5 separate regions of the Homo sapiens genome follow, and regions 1, 2, 3 and 5 are each linked to region 4. Evidence: promoter capture Hi-C in 16 types of primary human blood cells and fetal thymus (Javierre and others, 2016). All regions are on one chromosome and are shown on one strand. Each heading gives the region's core, a stretch centred on a gene start or on the middle of the fragment in contact. The rest is flanking DNA. Distances are from core to core; before and after follow the strand shown.

The links. Contacts are between HindIII fragments. The CHiCAGO score rates a contact against its expected background, and 5 or more counts as called.
Region 1: a contact is called between a fragment that was not itself captured here and the fragment with the promoter of SLC43A3 in region 4, in 1 of 17 cell types (neutrophils). The highest score is 5.4, in neutrophils.
Region 2: a contact is called between the fragment with the promoter of UBE2L6 here and the fragment with the promoter of SLC43A3 in region 4, in 1 of 17 cell types (neutrophils). The highest score is 7.0, in neutrophils.
Region 3: a fragment that was not itself captured here is called in contact with the fragment with the promoter of SLC43A3 in region 4 in 9 of 17 cell types (M1 macrophages, monocytes, activated CD4 T cells and 6 more); the score reaches 15.0 in M1 macrophages.
Region 5: a fragment that was not itself captured here is called in contact with the fragment with the promoter of SLC43A3 in region 4 in 2 of 17 cell types (neutrophils and monocytes); the score reaches 6.2 in neutrophils.

What each region holds. Positions count from the first base shown.
Region 1 is chr11:57,588,608-57,591,532 of GRCh38, forward strand. No RefSeq gene overlaps it. Among named protein-coding and RNA genes, the nearest start is that of SERPING1, 7.6 kb to the right of the region's middle. The HindIII fragment of the contact is 5,530 bases long and covers 1-2,925 here.
Region 2 is chr11:57,566,358-57,569,057 of GRCh38, forward strand. It overlaps UBE2L6 (ubiquitin conjugating enzyme E2 L6), which reads right to left and starts at 1,315. Exons shown (of 4, transcript NM_004223.5): 1 at 1,228-1,315. The coding sequence starts at 1,254. RefSeq lists an enhancer at 1-65 and a silencer at 1,319-1,678. The HindIII fragment of the contact is 19,025 bases long and covers 1-2,700 here.
Region 3 is chr11:57,659,933-57,662,689 of GRCh38, forward strand. CLP1 (cleavage factor polyribonucleotide kinase subunit 1) reads left to right here. Exons shown (of 3, transcript NM_006831.3): 2 at 1-150; 3 at 833-1,933. The coding sequence ends at 1,504. Among named protein-coding and RNA genes, the nearest start is that of CLP1, 3.5 kb to the left of the region's middle. The HindIII fragment of the contact is 2,449 bases long and covers 137-2,585 here.
Region 4 is chr11:57,425,724-57,428,513 of GRCh38, forward strand. It overlaps SLC43A3 (solute carrier family 43 member 3), which reads right to left and starts at 1,398. Exons shown (of 14, transcript NM_199329.3): 1 at 1,339-1,398; 2 at 865-929; 3 at 266-629. The coding sequence starts at 449. RefSeq lists enhancers at 1-122, 1-1,014, 123-915 and a silencer at 1,158-1,517. The HindIII fragment of the contact is 9,438 bases long and covers 1-2,790 here.
Region 5 is chr11:57,618,242-57,621,076 of GRCh38, forward strand. No RefSeq gene overlaps it. Among named protein-coding and RNA genes, the nearest start is that of MIR130AHG, 19 kb to the right of the region's middle. The HindIII fragment of the contact is 3,483 bases long and covers 1-2,835 here.

The DNA of each region.
Region 1 (2,925 bases), core at 125-2,624, 160 kb after region 4:
TTATAAGAGTGGTCTCCTGGCTGGGTGCGGTAGCTCGCCTGTAATCCCAGCAGTTTGGGAGGCTGAGGTGAGTGGATCACCTGAAGTCAGGAGTGTGAGACCAGCCTGGCCAACCCCGTCTCAACTAAAAAATAAAAATAAAAAATAAAAAATTATCCTGGCATGGTGGTGGGCACCTGTAATCCCAGCTACTTGGGAGGCTGAGGCATGAGAATCGCTTGAACCCAGGAGGCAGAAGTTGCAGTGAGCTGAGATTGTGCCACCGCACTCCAGCCTGGGCAATTGAGCGAGACCCTGTCTCAAAAAAAAAAAAAAAAAGGTCTCCCATGGAAAACCAATTTATATTGATTATCATGTATTATATTATATTATATTAGTTATTATCATTCTGTCTGTGGATTGAAGAATATCTGGAAAGGACAGAGTGGAAGCATGGAAACCAGGCAGGAGGCTATTCAGTGGCCCAGGTGAGAGATGGTTGTGGCTAGATTGGGTTCATGGCCTCAATGATTGAGAGAACTGAGTGGATTCAGGATACATTTTGAAGATACTACCAAAAGGTCTGATGATGGGCTGGATGTAGGGAAAGATCAAGCTCCTCTAATCCCTCTGGGTGAGAGGCTATTTCAACTTCTACCACCTCCTATAGTGACCTGAGGTGGAGATAAAGGGCTCAAATTAGGACCCAAGATTAAAGACCTAAACCCAATCAAGTTCAAGGAACCTGGAACTGAAAAGTAAATACAAAATCTAAGACTTTTAGGCCAGTGATAAAACTAGGCCTTGTTACATAAAGGAGAGAGAAAATGAGGCCCAGAAATTATTGTTTCTTTTTTCGAGACAGAGTCTTGCTCTGTTGCCCAGGCTGGAGTGCAGTGGCATGATCTCAGCTCACTGCAACCTCTGCCTCCCAGGTTCAAGCAATTCTCCTTCCTCAGCCTCCTGAGTAGCTGGGATTACAGGCACACACCACCATGTCTGGCTAATTTTTGTATTTTTAGTAGAAACAGGGTTTCACCATGTTGGCCAGGCTAGTCTCAAACTCCTGACCTCGTGATCTGCCTGCCTCAGCCTCCCAAAGGTCTGGGATTACAGGCATGAGCCACCGTGCCCTGCCACAAAAATGATTTTTTAATGACATAGATTGAACTAAAACATGCACTGTGTTCAATAGCAGAAAAAAAAAATCAAGATCCTGGAAATAAACAGAAATAGGTGGAATACGTCTTCAGAGCAAACTATATAACTGTATTAGTCTGTTTTCACACTGCTATAAAGAACTGCTCAAGACTGGGTAATTTCGAAAGGAAAGAGGTTTAGTTGACTCACAGTTGTGCATGGCTGGGGAGGCCTCAGGAGACTTACAATCATGGCAGAAGGTGAAGGGGAAGCAAGAAACCCTCTTCACAAGGTGGCAGGAAGAAGTGCTGAGCAAAGAGGGAAGAGCCCCTTATAAAACCATCAGATCTCGTGAGAACTCACTCACTATCAAGAGAACAGCATGTGGGAAACTGCCCCCATGATTCAATTGCTTCCACTTGGTCTCTCCTTTGACACATGGGGTTTATGAGGATTACAATTCAAGATGAGATTTGGGTGGGGACACAAAGCCTAAACATATCAACAAGTATATTGAGAAACAGGCCAGGCGTGGTGGCTCCCACCTGTAATCCCAGCAGAGAAACATTAAGGAAGAGCCAAATAGTTGGAAAGCTATAACATGTTCATGGATTAGAAGACTTACTGTTATAAAGATGTCAATTCACTCCCAAAATGATCTATAGATGTAAGGTAATACCAGTCAAAATCCCAACATATTTTTCCCTTTTATTTTGTGGAGCCTGGTAAGCTGATTCTAAGTATATATGGAAATTCAGGGATCAAGAATAGCAGAGATCTTCTTGAAGAAGAATAAAATGTGAGGACTTGGTCTACTGAATATCAGAACTTAAACATGGTGCCGTCACAATTTTTTGTTGTTGTTGTTTTTGAGACAGAGTTTTGCTCTTGTTGCCCAGGCTCAACCTCTACCTCCCTGGTTCAAGTAATTCTCCCGCCTCAGCCTCTCAAGTAGCTGGGATTACAGGCATGCACCACCACACCCAGCTAATTTTGTATTTTTAGTAGAGACAGGGTTTCTATCTCTGCTAACACGTGAAACCCCATCTCTACTAAATATACAAAAAAAAAAAAAAATTAGCTGGGCGTGGTGGCAGACACCTGTAGTCCCAGCTACTTGTGAGGCTGAGGCAGGAGAATGGCGTGAACCTGGGAGGCGGAGCTTGCAGTGAGCCGAGATCATGCCACTGCACTCCAGCCTGGGCAACAGAGCAAGACTCTGTCTCCAAAAAAAAGAAAAGAAAAGAAAAGAAAAGTCTGTAACTGGAGAAGTGACCATGGGGCTTCATGTTCAAGTTGGGCAGAACAAGGAGGGTGGCTCCCTGTTTCTCAACAGGCATTGAGGAACGCAAGGTGAATTTTGGCTTTTCTGGAAGTGGAGCAGGCATTTTTACCCTCAGGAGAGGTGCATGGAAGCAGAAACAGCAGGTCAAAGCAAGGGGCCACAATCTGAATGGAGCCAAATTCACAGCTGAGTCAACAGTCCAAACCTAGCGCTTCCATCTACAGAGCTGGCAACGGAGAATTGGAAACAAAGGCTAGAAATAGAAAGGTAGCAGAGAAAGCAGGTACGCTGCTGTGCAAGAAGTGGAAAAGATAGTAAGTGAGAGGGAAACTTCTGGAACCGGCATGTAGTTAAGGGGATTGGTTTGGGAATCAATCCAAATGTCTCTCTCAGGGTGAGATCAAAGAAATAGTTTGTAATACATCCATACAATGGAATACCGTGCGGCTGTAAGAAAGAATGAGATAGAGCTGCCTGCAGTGACATGGAACAATGCCCATGCTACTTTATTAAGAAAAGAA
Region 2 (2,700 bases), core at 65-2,564, 140 kb after region 4:
GGAGGCCTGTGGACCTGGTTTCATATTCCAGTCCCATTGCTCCTTACTGAAAGACTCTGGACAAGCAAGTTATTTCCTCTGTGCCTCAATTTCCTCATTTGTAAAATGCGGGTATATATTACTTATCTCACAGAACTGCTGTGCGAATTAGATGAAATAACCATGTAAACCGTTTGGCATGTAATGGTTCCAATGCAATAAATTCTGGCTCCCATCTCTCTTCCACTTGGCTGGAAAGACCCTCTGCCTCATTTTGCTGCCAACCTCCAGATTTAGTATCTAGGCCAAGCCTGCTCTGGGCATCCCAGTCTGAGGCCATTTTCTTCTCAGAGGCTGAGGGTAGCAGGCACCCTCTTCCTAGAGCCTGCCCCTCCACCCTGCAGACTGGAAGGGGCACTTCTGAAAGACTTGGGGTGCCAGACTCACTTCACCAGGATCACCTTCCTCCCTAATCCATCTCCAAACACCCTGGGTTTTCCCACCTTCTGGAGGAAACTGCCCCCTCCCCATCCTTCCAGATCTTATTTCAAATTGTGTCCCTGATAGGAACAAAATTCAACAAGGGCCGGATTTGTGTTCATCTCTGCCCGCCCCCCCCCCCCTCCTAGAACAGGGCCAGCACATGTAGGCATTCAACACTTGTAGAACTCACGAACGCAAGCCACCTACTCCAGGAGGCCTTCCAGGTCCACCTCCGCATCTTTTCCTCCAGAGAATACTCAGGGAACTTTGTCCCAAATTCTAATCAGCATTCCGTGTTTCTCAGGACTCTAGTAATACAGGCATCAAATTATGGGATGGGCTATGGGCTTATTCCAAGGCAAGGACTTCATCCTGGTCATCTGTGTTCATAACCCACCACCAGCAGTAGCAGAATGCCTGGCACCAAGATGCCAAGGACTTTTCCTGCACTGGAGATGCACCCAGTTGTTATCACAAGTTTCAGGCAGGAAAAGCGAAATTGAAACCAGTTTTGGGGGAGCCGGCTCATCTTCACCACGCGAACGGCTCAAGCAGAGGCCTCCAAACCCCCAAAACCCCAGCTCTGGCCACTCTTGCAGGCCAGTCCTCCTCTGAGTAGAGGGCGGGGAGGACAGGGATTCAGCCAGCCCTGGTGCCCAGACAAATAAATAAATGTGCTCGGAGAGCCGCGGAGGGGATGGAGGGAGGAGGGAATGCGGGAGGCGAGGGGAGCCAAGAGAAAGGGGTCATCCTATACGCGGTTACCTTCACCACTCGCATGCTCGCCATCATGTCGGGACCGAGTGTGTGGCACCCGTGGCCTCCAGCAGGACCGAGCTCCGACCCGCGACACAGCGCGCCCCGCCCCGCCCCGGGGACCCCACCCCCGGCAGCCCCGCCCACCCCTCCTCCAGCCGTCGCTGCGTGGGCCTCCCCGCACCCGCTCCGGCGAGGCCAGGAGGCCGTCGAAGGACGACCCGCCGGACAACCGCCCGATCCCCGCGCGGAAGGCTCGGACCCGGGACTCACGGTCTTTGTGCGGAGACGGGGGCGGGCCTCGGGGCGCACGGCTTTGCTGATCCCTGCCTCCCGCGGGGTGCGCCGTGCACCGGCGGCGAGCGCTCAGGGGCGCTGGGGGGCGCTCATACGGGTTCCAGTCTTCGCTCCGCCGGCGGCCGCACCGGGAGCTCTCCGGTCTTTGTCAGCCCCCTGCACGCCGCCCCAAATACACACTCGCCCTGAATAAATAAGGGATGCTCGCTGTACAGACGCAGCTCCGTGACAGTTCTCAGCGGCCTCCACTATCGGACTGCCGCCTTGAGCCCCTGCCCCAGCAAGCTGCCGGAGCCGCCGAGCCTGCCGCCTTCCCTCCATGGGCCCAGCGCTCCATCTCCGAAACTGCGTGGGGGATGGCGTAGACCTGTGCCCTCCGAGCACCGCTCCCCGGCAGTCGGGGATCCTTTGTGCTGCCCGGCGTTCGGCGCGGGCTGCAACGTTTCTCCCCGTGGCTTGGGGCAGAGCACCGCAAGGAGGCGCTGTTGGACCCTTTCTCTTTTGCTTTGGGGGTTCGGTCTACCATCATTCAGTCCTTTACTAGGTTTAGTATTTACTAAGTGCCTACTGTATGCTGGTTTGGGAAACAGTTGGTGGGGGAAGCCCCAAGAAGGACTCAGGAGCCTCCTTTCCAAGAGAGAGTCTGCTTCCCCTCCCTTACTTTACTACTGGTCCATTACAAGCTGTGGGCCTAATGTGTGCCCCCATGCACAGCTGGAGTCCCCAACCCTCTGTGCAAGGACAGAGTACTTGCAGCCCCTGAGCACCAAGCAGCATCTGGGGAAGATGAGACTTGTTGGGAGGGCCGATCCCCTCCTTCTCACCCTTCCCTACCCCCGTTTAGTCCAGACGAGAAAGGAAATCAGTATATTTTGAGCACCAGTTTGTGATCTCAGTACCTCACAGTTTTTTTGTTTCTTGTTTTTCTGACAGAGTTTCACTGTCGCCCTGACTGGAGTTCAGTGGCGATATCGGCTCACTGCAACCTCCGCCTCCCGGTTCAAGCTGTTCTCGTGCCTCAGCCTCCTGAGTAGCTGAGATTTACAGGCGCGCGCCACCACGACCGGCTCATTTTTGTATTTTTAGTAGAGTCAGGGTCTCGAGCTCCTGGTTTCAAGTAATCCACCCGCCTCGGCCTCCCAAAGTGTTGGAATTACAGGCGTGAGCCACCGTAATGTTTTTATC
Region 3 (2,757 bases), core at 111-2,610, 230 kb after region 4:
GGCCAGGGTTCTGTGTCCATCCCTGGTACCATGGGGGCCCTCTACATCGAGCGGCCTGCAGATGTCGAAGAGGGTTTCTCTATCCAGGCCCCTCTGGTGTATCATTTTGGTTCCACCACTCCTGGCACTAACATCAAGCTTTATAATAAGGTCAGAGCCAGAGAAAGGTGGGGTGGAGGGAAGGGCTGCTATCAGGGTAGGAAACTGGAGAAGTTTACTAGTTAACACTGCATTTTCTCAGCTGGTATTTCTGCTGCATTACTTTAGAAAGGCAATTCCAAATATGTCAGTCTCAGATTGTTAAACATTTCTGTGGATCTATTCTTAGTAATTTGTTAGATTTTCACTTAGGGCATAAAACAGGAGGCAGAAGCAGCAACATAAAAATTAAATCCATGTTATGGTATCAAAACTACAGCCATTAAAAATGTCATTTTTTCAGGCTGGGTACAGTGGCTCATGCCTGTAATCCCACAACTTGGGAGGCTGAGACGGGTGGATCACCTGAGGTCAGGAGTTGGAGAGCAGCCTGGCCAACATGGTGAAACCTTGTCTCTACTAAAAATACAAAAAGTAGCTGGGCGTGGTGGCTGGTGCCTGTAATCCCAGCTGTTCAGAGACTGAGGCAGGAGAATCACTTGAACGCGGGAGGTGGAGGTTGCAGTGAGCTGAGATCGTGCCACTGCACTCCATCCTGGGCAACAGAGTGAGACTCCATTTCAAAAAAAAAATCATTTTTCTTATATCTAATAGCACTTATTCTAAAGAGGAACAAAGTAGCCATGGGTTTGTCTGGGTGTTTTTGTTCTTACCTTGATCCTCTCTTTTGCAGATTACATCTCGTTTAGCAGATGTGTTCAACCAAAGGTGTGAGGTGAACCGAAGGGCATCTGTGAGTGGCTGTGTCATTAACACCTGTGGCTGGGTCAAGGGCTCTGGTTACCAGGCTCTGGTGCATGCAGCCTCAGCTTTTGAGGTGGATGTCGTTGTTGTTCTGGATCAAGAACGACTGTACAATGAACTGAAACGGGACCTCCCCCACTTTGTACGCACTGTGCTGCTCCCTAAATCTGGGGGTGTGGTGGAGCGCTCCAAGGACTTCCGGCGGGAATGTAGGGATGAGCGTATCCGTGAGTATTTTTATGGATTCCGAGGCTGTTTCTATCCCCATGCCTTCAATGTCAAATTTTCAGATGTGAAAATCTACAAAGTTGGGGCACCCACCATCCCAGACTCCTGTTTACCTTTGGGCATGTCTCAAGAGGATAATCAGCTCAAGCTAGTACCTGTCACTCCTGGGCGAGATATGGTGCACCACCTACTGAGTGTTAGCACTGCCGAGGGTACAGAGGAGAACCTGTCCGAGACAAGTGTAGCTGGCTTCATTGTGGTGACCAGTGTGGACCTGGAGCATCAGGTGTTTACTGTTCTGTCTCCAGCCCCTCGCCCACTGCCTAAGAACTTCCTTCTCATCATGGATATCCGGTTCATGGATCTGAAGTAGAGATCAGCAGGAAGCCTTGCTGCCTGGGACATAGAGATCATCTGGCCACCCCTAGAGGCAGATGGGCTGAGATAAAAGACTGTTGGGGCCACCTGACCAGTAAACTGTGGACTAGTAGAAAGTTCATATTCTACCTCTAAAAACAGGTAGTGGTAACCTGACTCTTCTAATCTTGAACCAAAAGGAAAACCATGAGACTGTAATTGGTTTCTTAGACCACCTAAGATGCCACTTTGAATTCTCTAAGACCCTGGAGAATTGCATTTCTTTCACTGTGCTACTATGTGGTTTTTAAAAAATCAATGCTTTATATTCCATATGTGGTTCTTACCCATTTATCTAGGATGAAAGTGTGAATTAGAGGGACTCCTTCCAATAAAGTTCAAACTTAAAAAAAATCATTTTAATAAATATTTTTGCCATATCATAGAAGTTGGTATAATTTATTTTTTTCCCCTAAGCGTTATAGAAACATAATTGGAATGATTTATTGCTAAAATGCTTGGAGGAGGGGAAAACCAAGAAACCTACCTGTGAGCCACGTCAGGTTTTTTTTTTTGGTGGTGGTGGTGGTTGTTTTTGTAAGAGTCTCACACTGTCACCTGGGCTGGAGTGCAGTGGCGTGATCTTGGCTCACTGCAACCTCTGCCTCCCAGGTTCAAGTGATTCTCCTGCCTCAGCCTCCCAAATAGCTGGGGTTACAGGTGCCCGCCACCACGCCCAGCTAATTTTTTGTATTTCTTTTAGTAGGGACAGGGTTTCACTATGTTGGCCAGGCTGGTCTCAAACTCCTGACCTCATGATCTGCCTGCCTCGGCCTCCCAAAATGCTGGGATTACAGGTGTGAGACACTGTGCCCGGCTGTGAGTTCTTATGATAGTTCACCTTTCCTCTGCGCTTAGGTAAGTAGATGGTAAATCTGCTGTCAGTGCTGGATTTACTGTGGGGAGTTAGAGGCTGGTGATAATCTTGGAATGAGATTTCATATCTAATCATTTTCCAGAGATAGCTCATTTTCCTTCCAGTACAGCTATCCTTGTCTATTTGATTGGAACTAGGCCCTAAGTCAAAGTGTAACTTAAGCTTTCAGGTGGTAAGAAACTGGGAAAGCCCATTCTTTTTGATCTCTTGCAAATGACTGTTTGGTGTCCCTGGTTTGCACTTGGATTACTTAAGTATCTGATGCCATTCATCCATTCCTTCTTTTCATAAATGTTTACTGAGGACTGACTGTTTGTCAGGAGCCACTGTAG
Region 4 (2,790 bases), core at 148-2,647:
CACAGGCTGGGCTCCCCTCCACCTCAGACAGCTTGTCGGTCGCAAACTTGTCCCTTAAGCTGAGTTGAAATGTGGCTGCCCCTAATTACCCCTCAGGAGCTGGTGCCTCCCTCCCAGGCACTTCCCAGATCAAGTGGGGTGAGAGCTGCTGACCCTTCCTCTCATCATAGAAAGAGGGGTGGGCAGGGGGCAGAGTCCTTCCTGCTCCTTGCCACCACGTGGGAGCCAGACTTAACTTCCTTAGAAAAGTCATCCCTGCCCTTACCAGCCTGCCCTGTGGCATTGCCAATCGGCCCAGCATCTGGTCCACACAGATCCTTAAAGTAATCTTCATTCTTGAAGACAAACACTAGTGAAGGCCAGCCAAAGAGGACGCCAGCAAAGCCCAGGCATTCCAGCAGCCCAGTCAGCAGTGTGGCCACGTGCAGGGGCAGGCCCTGGCCCGCCATGAGCAGAAGTGGAGTGGATCTTCAAATCCCACTTTGTCCTCCTGGACGGATCACAGGCGCCGTAAGCCTGGCGTTTGAGCACTTGGAAAATTCCTCTGGCAAGCCAAGCCCTTCCTTTCCCGTAGCTCTCTGGTTGTTTCAGGCCTGGGCAAAAACCATCAGCGGGTGATTCTCTGGATCCTGTAGAATAAAGATAGAGGCTGCTGGAAGAGGAGGCCTGCGGGAAAGGGAAAGGTAGACTAGAGTTATTTGTGAGGTGCATTAAGAGGCAGGATGATCATGGCCGCTGGCAGCAAATGTGGGGAATAAATACTCCAATACATCATCTTAGGCACTGCATTTGAGTAACCACGTGGCAAGTAGAGAGGCAGGTCTTGATGGCCACCTGGAGTCACAGGTGAGATAAACGACTTACCCAATAGCTCCCCGGGAGCAGGTGGAGAAGCGGAGCTCCTGCGCTCGAATTCTGAATACCGTCCCCTAAAATAATGACAGCAACTCAACCAGGTGCAGAGGCAGGGAGATTTCATACAGAAGACACAAACTCCCGCTGCCAAGTTGGTGTTATCTTCAGTTTACTGACAATGAAACAAAAGCTCCCATGGATTTCAGGAACTTGCCCAAGGTCACAGGGCTAGTTTAGTCACGACGCAGGCCATTCTACTGCCAGAAATACCCCCAACTCCCATGACCCTCGCCTAGGACTCGCAAACCTGGTCCCCGCCGCCCTTCCTCGCATCAACTTCTACCAGGAAAGCCTCCGGGGGCCGCTCCCCGCCAGCCTCCGCACCCCGCTCCAGCCTGCGGCCTGCCCTCCCCGCAGAGGAGCCCGAGGGGCCAGGCCGCGCTCGGCGCCCCATGGCGCCCGAAAGGGGACCCTTCGCCCTACCCGCCTGCTCCGCGCCGGGGCTCTCCGCGCCCTTTCCGCACGGGCCAGGTTCGCATTCGCGCCTCTCGCAGCCCCTCCCAGTCCCCTGCTCGCCTCCGCCCCCTCCTGCCCGCCCGGAAGGGGCTGGGGCAGACCTCCCACTCTCCATCACTTCCTTCTTCTTTTCCCTTGCTCACAGCCTCCCGCGCCCTTTTTACCTCTCCCTCTTGAAACTTCTCCCTCTAGAACCCCCTAGAACCCCAGCGGTGTCTTTCCCTCCCTCCTCGCTGCCTTTCAGCCTCCCAGCCCCCTTGCCTCTGCCTCCCCTAACCAAGTTAGTTGAATGCTGTTACTCGCTCAGGCCCACCTAGGGAAAATGTCACACCCAGCACCCAGAGGACACACAGACAGCACATGAGGGCATAGGGACACACACACTCTATTTGTGCATTTTGCCTTGACCGCTGGGTTGGCAGGGAACATATTTTTCCTATTTGCTCACCAGCTTAACCGTCTCTCCCAGTTTCACACTCCCAGAGCTGCCAAAAAAATCCCAACCACAGAATCAGGAAGCCAAGAACCAGGACTGAGGGCTTTTCAGAAACCATCCCCTGGAGGACTGCCCCATATTTTCACTCCCAAAAACCCCTTAGATGACTCCCTGCCTCACCCCCGCCCCCCAGGTTCTGAAAGAGCCTTCCCGCCAGACTGCATTGATTAACCATTCATTGCCCCATTTTTTATTAATCAAAGACATATATAATTGCTCATCGGAGCTTGTGATCAGCGTGAGGCCTTACTAAGCAGCTGCCTTACTATCCTTCCAGCCCAGAGCACGTGAGCTGACGTCTTCTTTGGCCTGTGTGGCCGTTTCCTTGCCAAAAGCTCAGTTTGGGGAGAGCTTCTTGCGTATTAGATGCAGTCTGCAGACTCCCAACCCCAGCTACCTGGATCCCCTGAGGGCCCAGGAACTCCAGCTATTCCAAGCCCACTCCTCTTTTTTTTAAGAGGAAGAAATAGAGGTTACGATAGGGGACAGCCAGAACTGAGGATTTTCCAGCTCACCACCAAAGCACAAAAGATAAAAGTCTGCAACCACCCTAGTGACTTGACTGAATGGAGGAAGGGTGGCTGGGGTCCTGTACCCCAAGCTACTCACTAGTTATACAACCTGAGGCAAGCTCTTTGGCTGCCCCACCTGTAAGACGAGGACAATAGTACCTTAATTATAGGAATTGTCATAAAAGAAGTATAAGATGGGTGTATGAGGTCCCTGCATGGCGCAGGTGCTATAGGCAGATTGTAGGGTAGTAGATTTTCTAGTCTGCAGTTATGTAGACAGAGCCAGAGAAGCAGCTCTGGGGAGGAATTTCAAAGGAACTTGCCCACGGTCATTCTACAAAGCTGCAGTACCTTCCCAACTCTGAAACGTATGCTCTCATCACCCCGTCTTAACAAACATTTGGACATTAG
Region 5 (2,835 bases), core at 330-2,829, 190 kb after region 4:
CAGCCTCCGCCTCCTGGGTTCAAACAATTCTCCTGTCTCAGCCTCCCGAGTAGCTGGGACTACAGGCTTGTGCCACCATGCCTAGCTAATTTTTGTATCTTTAGTAGAAACGAGGTTTCACTATGTTGGCCAGGCTGGTCTCGAACTCCTGACCTCAGGTGACCTGCCCTCCTTGGCCCCCCAAAGTGCCGGGATTACAGGTATAAGCCACTGCACCCAGCCTGAACATTTATTTTGCTAATGAGTCATTGACCCAGTGTGGGCTTGGCAAATCTAGGGTAGCCTCAGTTATGTACCTGCTACAGTCAGCTGGGGGTTAGCTGAAGGTTTGTTGAGGTTTGATTTCACTGAGCTTGCATAGGCTCTTTCACATGTTTTAGACTTTGGCTGGGATCAACCAGATGACCAATTCTGATCCAAGTGATCTCTGGTCTTCCAGGAAGCTAGTCTGGCTTATTCATACGAAGTTTGCAAAAGTCCAAGAAAGCAAGCAGAGGCATGCATGCAAGGCCTCTTGAATCCGAAGCTAGGAACTACTAGAACATCACTTCTGCCTCATTCTAGCAGCCAAAGCAAGTCACCAGACCAGTTTAGATTCAAGGTAAGGAAAGAATCTCTACCTGTTAAAGAAAAGACCTGCAAAGTCATTCTGCTAAGGGCATTAATATAACGAAATGTGAATAATTCTGGCCACTTTTCCAGTATACCATATGTGGTCTTACATAGTTGCAAACAACTATTAGCAACTTTCCCCAGCAACCTGCCACTCTGTTTTTCCCTAAAGAATCAAGGGCTTTTGTCGAGATCATAATAATATTAGAAACACTTTGTTACATGAAGTTTCAAGTCGTTTGCATATAAATTGAATCTTCTGTTGCTATCTCTGTGGCATATTTAACAATCTCTGGCTCTTCCAGCTGCCTGTGTTGTAGAATAAATTATTATAAATACAGAGCTGCCTGAGTATTTATAATAATAAATAAATAAATTATCTTCATTTCCATTTCCCTTGAGAAAGATGGACAGAGGGCTATGCACTCATAGACACACACACACACACACACACACACACACACCCTTACAACCCCCACCTTTCTGCCCTGCCTTGCAATTCTACTCTGGGGTAGACAAAGGCCTGTATGTCCACAGATCCATTTTCAGTGATCTGTTTCCTGTCCCCAACTGTAGACCCCTCCACACGTGGATTTGTCTGGGGAAGAACCTTAAGGTGAGATTAGGGTTCCATTGCAATGAGTCTTTGCTGCCACTTGGTGTCATTGTTGAAGGCTTGTCCTGCATAGCCCCATGGACACTTGCCTTTTCAGGGAGATGTTTTTGCTGTTCCAGATTCTTTTTTTTTTTTTTTTTTGAGACAGAATCTCTCTCTGTTGCCCAGACTGGAGTGCAATGGTGCGATCTTGGCTCACTGCAACCTCTGTTTCCCAGGTTGAAGGGATTCTCCTGCCTCAGCTTCCTGAGTAGCAGGAATTATAGGCACCCACCATGTGTCCAGCTAATTTTTGTATTTTTAGTAGAGATGGGGTTTTACCATGTTGGCCAGGCTGGTCTCAAACTCCTGACCTCAAGTGATCCACCCATCTTGGCCTCCCAAAGTGTTAGAATTACAGGTGTGAGTCACTGTGCCTGGCCGGTTCCAGATTCTTAAACAGCTGATGTGGGGACTTAAACTTTGATTCCAAAGTTTACACTTTACACTTGTTCAGCCACTGTTTCTCAAAGATCAATACCTTTAGTTCTCTCTGGATAGCAGAAGGCTTCCAACATGAGCCATAGGCTATGTCAGAATCAGCCTCATCCCTATGAACCCTTAGGACATTGTCTTGACTCATGGTTGATAACCACATTAGCCATGTATCTACCTAACATGCATTAACCATTTGCCATGCTGTCAGGCACTGTGTTAAGAATTTTACATGGATTATGTTATTTCATTTAAGAGAGATCATGACTTAAGAAAAGGATATGTTACTGAATATATTAGATAATTCAAAATTTAGATAATTTGATACTAAGTTTTCCAGAATAATAACTGTAAAAGGTAGGGAGAGAATCTTCAACCATTGTAGAATTTCTTGTCTTCAAACTATTGTTTATTTTCTAAATACAAAAATCTCTAATATTTCTCAGAGTAGGCACTCTTAAATTAACTGCTTGGCATATCAGGACAGCTATTTGGGCTTTTTCATAGTGTCTTATCATATCTAACTTTCATTACAAAGTTATTGATTTTGGAGGGTGTTTTTAGCACTAGTGCCATGACTTAATGAATGAACTCTGAGATGACATCATTGTAGAATACAGGAAATATTTTAAATGATAAAGCTGAATGTTAAAATAACAGCACCTTAGTCACAAATGTCACTGTCAGAATTTATGATGCACATAAACAATAGCTGATTCACACAATTATGAGCAGTGATGGCAGTTATTTACTTTCACCAGCTCAAGTGCCACTATCATGTACCAATAGTTATGAGTATAGTTTACAATCCACTCAGCCCACCAATTTTGAAATTATGCAACCCTTGATGATTTTTTTTAATTTAGGGAGATTTTCAATTTTTCAAGTTTGTATAATTCAAATTTATATAATATACAGTAGTACCACCTCATTATTATCCTCTTTTATAGATGAAAAATGAAACCTTACAGTGCAATTGATCTACTCATTCAAGATCTCAGAAGTCCAGAAGTGGTGGCTTATGCTTGTAATCTTAGCACTTTGGGATGCCAAGGTGGGTGGATCACTTGAGGTCAGGAGTTCGAGACCAGCCTGGCCAACATGATGAAACCACATCTCTACCAAAAATTAGT